2 separate regions of the Homo sapiens genome follow, and region 1 is linked to region 2. Evidence: promoter capture Hi-C in human tissues and cell types (Jung and others, 2019). All regions are on one chromosome and are shown on one strand. The core of a region is centred on a gene start or on the middle of the fragment in contact, and the rest is flanking DNA. Distances in the headings are between cores, read along the strand shown.

What was found. Contacts are between HindIII fragments. The study calls those that stand out against the background at their distance.
Region 1: a fragment that was not itself captured here is called in contact with the fragment with the promoter of FAM90A1 in region 2 in 1 of the 25 tissues and cell types used here (spleen).

Annotation. Positions count from the first base shown.
Region 1 is chr12:8,021,250-8,023,949 of GRCh38, forward strand. No RefSeq gene overlaps it. Among named protein-coding and RNA genes, the nearest start is that of FOXJ2, 10 kb to the right of the region's middle. The HindIII fragment of the contact is 5,712 bases long and covers 1-2,700 here.
Region 2 is chr12:8,226,177-8,228,876 of GRCh38, forward strand. FAM90A1 (family with sequence similarity 90 member A1) reads right to left here and starts at 1,442. Exons shown (of 7, transcript NM_018088.3): 1 at 1,304-1,442; 2 at 96-302. It also overlaps the pseudogene ALG1L10P. RefSeq lists an enhancer at 1,004-1,053. The HindIII fragment of the contact is 5,625 bases long and covers 270-2,700 here.

The sequences.
Region 1 (2,700 bases), core at 58-2,557, 210 kb before region 2:
TTGAACTCCTGACCTCGTGATCCGTCCGCTTCAGCCTCCCAAAGTGCTGGGATTACAGGTGTAAACCACCGTGCCTGGCCCATAATTTCTTTGTTTGTTTGTTTGTTTGTTTGGGAAGGAGTCTCGCTCTGTCACCCAGGCTGGAGTACAATGGCGTGGTCTCGGCTCACTGCAATCTCCACCTCCCGGGTTCAAGCGATTCTCCAGCCTCAGCCTCACGAGTAGCTGGGATTACAGGCACTGCCATCACGCCCGGTTTATTTTTGTATTTTTGGTAAAGACGAGGTTTCACCATCTTGATCAGGCTGGACTTGAACTCCTGACCTCAGGTGATCCACCCACCTTGGCCTCCCAAAGTGCTGGGATTACAGGCATGAGCCACTGCGCCTGGCCCCTTCCCTCTTAAATATTAATATTTACTTGTAGTACTAATTTTAATTAGTTATAAATGAAGGCCCAGTGGTCAAGTGACTTGTTCAGAATTGTTCAGTAAGTCCGAAGCAGGCTGGACAAGAAGCTAAGCTTTCTCCTTACTATGGCAGAGATCTCACATTACCTCAGTGGCTTCAGAGCCCTGTCATACTGGCCAAAGTGTTCACTCAGAAAGGACAGGACAAAGTAGTACTTTTCTTGATGTTAAATGTATTTAGTTATTAAATTCTGAGACTGAAACTTTCCTTTTTTAATTTTAAATTTTTTGGGGGGGCAGTATTGCTCTGTCGCCCAGGCTGGAGTGCAGTGGTGTGAACTTCTGGGCTGAAGCGATCCTCCTACCCAAGTTGGCCAAGTAGCCGGAACGACAGGCATCACCACCACACCTAGCTAATTTTTTTGTTAAATTGTATTTTTTTGTAAAGACAAGTCTCGCCATGTTTCGTAGGCTGGTCTCGAATTGCTGAGCTCAAGCAATCCTCACCCTCCCAAAGTGCTGGGATTATGGGCATGAGCCACTGCACCCAGCCCTGAGACTATAACCTTCCTGTCTTTCTGGTGGAAGGTTTTAATTAATATTAAAATGTTGATTCTTTTATAAAATGATGGGCATAGTAGACTTTAGTTGGTAATTAATGTCTTTACCTGAAAATATAAAAAGTTCTGTGCTCTCTCATATTTCCCCACTGGTTTATAAAATGAAAAAGTTTAGAACAGACTTTTGCTTCATTCTTATGCTGCTTCTGGTTCAACATCCTTTTGTTTCATTCTACATTTTATTTGTTACTAAGAAAATCTGTGGGGTTTTTTTTTCTTTTTTTCTTTTTTTTTGAGCCAAGGCCTTGCTCTGTTGCCCAGGCTGGAGTGCAGTAGTGATCCTTCCACCTCAGCCTCCTGTGTAGCTGGGACCACACCACTGTAAGCCACCTGGCCCGGCTTATTTATTTATTGACATAGGGTCCACTTTGTCACCCAGGGTGGAGTGCAGTGGAACATACACAGCTCCACTGCAGCCTCGACCTCCCAGGCTCAAGCAATCCTCCCACTTCAGTCTTCTGAGTAGCTAGGACTACAGACATGAGCCACCACGCCCTGGAGGGAAATCTTTTAAATGTAGATCCATATATTCTTGTAGTGGATATAGGTGACCCATGTTCTATTTCCTTTATATACCTTCCTCTGCAGAGACTGGAAAACCAAAAACTATACTTTCCAGATTTTTTCGCAACTAGGATTCTAGTTGTAAATTGTGGATCTATCAATAATTTGCACACATAAGAAACTTGAAAAGTGGAAGCCAGGCTGGGGTCAGCTGCTGGCCGCTTTGGCTGTTGCTGCTGGTCAGCAGAGTCATGGGAATGCTGGGTTTTTCTGCAGCAGTGTTCCAATGTCTATTCACTAGTTCCACGGCTGTTTTTTTTTGTTTGTTTTTGTTTTTGAGAAGGAGTCTCGCTTTGTCACCCAGGCTGGAGTGTGGAGTGCAGTGACACGATCTCAGCTCACTGTAACCTCTGCCTCCCAGGTTCAAGCGATTCTCCTGCCTCAGCCTCCCAAGTAGCTGGGATTACAGGTGCCCGCCACCACACCCGGCTAATTTTTGTATTTTTAGTGGAGATGGGGTTTTACCATGTTGGCCAGGCTGGTCTCGAACTCCTGACCTCAGGTGATCCACCTGCCTCGGCCTCCCAAAGTGCTGGGATTACAGGTGTGAGCCACTGTGCCCGGCGTTTCATGGCTGTTGAAAGGTGCTGAGGCTGTGTTAGCAACAGTAGCTGCCCAATTCCTTGATCACAACTAGGGCAGTAAGTTCTCCTTTTTTTCTTTATTTTTAATTTTTTTTCTTTCCATACTCATGTCAGTACAGGGGCATGTGTTCCTGAACTCAACAGCTGCAGCAATACAGTCTTGATTTCTCATCTTTCTAAAGCTTTCCTGGTGGGTGAATTTAGCAGCCTCATTCTTGGAGCCATTTCTGATATACAGCAGAAACCCCCTTTCTCCAGTACTTCCAACGATTTTGTAAGCACATTAAGCCCCAGTATTAAAGCCTTTCCTACTTAAGTGGTTTCTAGTTACTGCAGCCAGCCCTGACAGATCTAATACCTGATTGAGCAGTAGCCCACTGCCCTTTTCTTCTTTTTCTTCTTTCCATAAATGCCAAAGGCAATGCAACCCAGTGCTTTCATCCCTGGTCTTTTGAGGCCTGGTGTTTGTTTCTTGGGCTTCCAGGGATGAAAGAAACTCATGATTACTATTGTTTAAGAAGGG
Region 2 (2,700 bases), core at 192-2,691:
GATATGTAACACTGGTGCCTGTACCCCTGTCTTCTTTTCCATCTTTTTTGTTTTTGTGTTTTGTTTTGTTTTAAAAAATGTGGTAAAATAGACACCTTTTAATTGGACCATATTTACTCTATCTCGACGTAGGCCTCCGTGTCATCATGGAGATTCTCCTTGACATGCAGTCACGGCCATGATCCATCTTCAGAGCTTCTCTTTCTTCCCCACGGTAGGTCTGTCAGCAGAGAACCCTGACCACACACTCATGTGTTTTCTCCTCCAGAATGCGCTTGGAAACCACCGTGAATTGGAGCGCACTGGGAAACACAGATGAAGAAAGTCAACACCGCTTTGTCCTTCAGTGCCTGGCTCCCTTTTCAGCTGGTCTTGAGACTCCAGGCATTGGAGTCCAGGGAGGGGCACGCCGCCTTTACCTTGTGCTTCCCACGATCTTGTCTCCTTAATCCCCACTGCAGCTCTCTGCCATAGGGTCTTATACTGCTTTACATGTGGGAAACTGAAGCTCAGAGGGTTTCACAGCAGGGCAGGGAGCCCAGATGTGAATCTGTACATACCAAGCTTTCTAATTTTTCAGTAGTTTCCAAGCATCTTTTTTTTTTTCTTGTTTCTTCATTGATGTCTTTTTTTTTTTTTTTTTTTTTTTTTGAGACACAGTCTCTGTCGCCCAGGCTGGGGTGCAGTGGTGTGATCTCAGCTCACTGCAACCTCCGCGTCTCACAGTCAAGCAATTCTCATGCCTCAGCCTCCCGAGTAGCTGGGACTACAGGTGCCCACTACACCCAGCTTATTTTGGTATTTTTAGTAGAAACAGGGTTTCACCATGTTGGCCAGGCTGGTCTTGAACTCCTGACCTCAGGTGATCCACCTGCCTTGGCCTCCCAATATGCTGGAATTATTGATATGAGCCATTGTGCCCGGTCATGTCATTGTTGCCTTAACCAAGCCTCTTTTAATTTTTCAAACGGAAGAGCCCCTGTCCCTCAGTTACTGCTGCTGAGCCCTTTCAAGATGACTCAGTGAGGAGGGGGAAAAGCAGAAGCGGTGTGGGAAGAGGCGGGGTCTGGGCCAGCTGCTGGTCCTGCTCTCCTCCCTCCTTTGGCCTCTAGGCTCCCAGGAGTGGTTTGGAACCTGCGCCGTGTGCTCTGGGGGCTGTGGCAGGGCAGGGGCGGCTTGGAACCTGCGCCATGTGATCTGGGGGCTGTGTCAGGGCAGCGGGAGTCCTCGTGTCCCCTGCGCACAACACAGACAGAAGGCTGGGTCCACCCAGTGGGCGGTCGGGTGCCAGGCCAGTGCTTACCCCGCCATGTTTTCAAGCCCGAGGCCAGCTGGCTGCAGGTGCAGGGCTATGCGTCAGGGGTCAGGGTGCACACATCCCTGCAGGTCTCGGGGCTCCTGGGTTGCTTCTGGAAGGGCCCGGATGGGGCCTGACTGGAGCTGCCGAGGGGTGGAGCTTCTGGGAAAAGGATCCCTCCTAGGGGGAGTGTCTTGGGCCTGGGGCCACGTGGCACGGAGAGAGACGGGTCCATGGCAGTGTCTGCTTTTCTCTGTGAAGGCAAAGGGCCTCTGAGGGAGTATTACAGCCGCCTCATCCACCAGAAGCATTTCCAGCACATCCAGGTCTGCACCCCCTGGCTGGAGGGCCGAGGACTACCCCCGCTTCTAGGTGAGAGGCCAGCAGGAGGCTCAGGGAGGACGCGGGGCCTTAAGCAGGGGGAACAGGGGTGGGCAGGATGTACTTTTTTCAGAAAAGGTGGCTCTGGAGGCCACTTGGGGACAGGACCTGGGCTCTAGCTGAACTCCCGGGAGGAGGCTACTTCCTGGTGTGCCAGCCCCTCCCTGCCAGGTGGCCCCAGAGGCCCTTTACCAAGGGGTTTGAGGAGGCCACGTCCTTTCAGTCTGCCACGCCCTCCATTCAGTCCTCTTCCTTCCTGCAGGAGGGCTGGGCCTGGGGTTGGGGCCACTGTTGCCCAGGTGTGGGAGGGCAGTGGCTTTGGGAGGTACAGGGACGATGTGTCAAACAGCGTCGCCTCTCCCAGTGCGATGGTTCTCCTTTGCCTCCGTCTCTTTCCGCGTTGATTTCTCCAAGTGGGGAGTCGTGGCTTGGTCCTGATGCGTCTCTAGAGCCGCATCTTCCAGCTTCGAGTGAGCAGAGCAGTTGGAGTCTGAGGGCCTTTTCCTGGCAGGATTCTCCAGCTAGTCTTTGTTTTAGACAGTCTTGCTCCGTTGCCTAGGCTGGAGTGCACGATCTCAGTTCATGCAACCTCCGCCTCCTGGGTTCAAGCGATTCACCCACCTCAGCCTCCCAAGTAGATTACAGGATTACAGGAGCCCGCCACAACACCTGGCTTATTTTTGTATTTTTAGCAGAGACAGGGTTTCACCATGTTGGCCAGGCTGGTCTTGAACTCCTGACCTCAAGTGATCCTCTCGCCTTGGCCTCCCTAAGTGCTGAGATTCCAGGCCTGACCCATCATGCCTAGCCCCAGCTAGTCTTTAGAAATGTTAAGCTATTTGGCTTTATTTTCACACTGACAGCTGGTTTGTGGTGGGTGTGATGTGGTTTATTATTATTATTATTATTATTATTATTATTTTGAGACGGAGTTTCGCTCTTGTTATTATTATTATTATTATTATTATTATTATTATTATTATTATTTTGAGACGGAGTTTCGCTCTTGTAGCCCAGGCTGG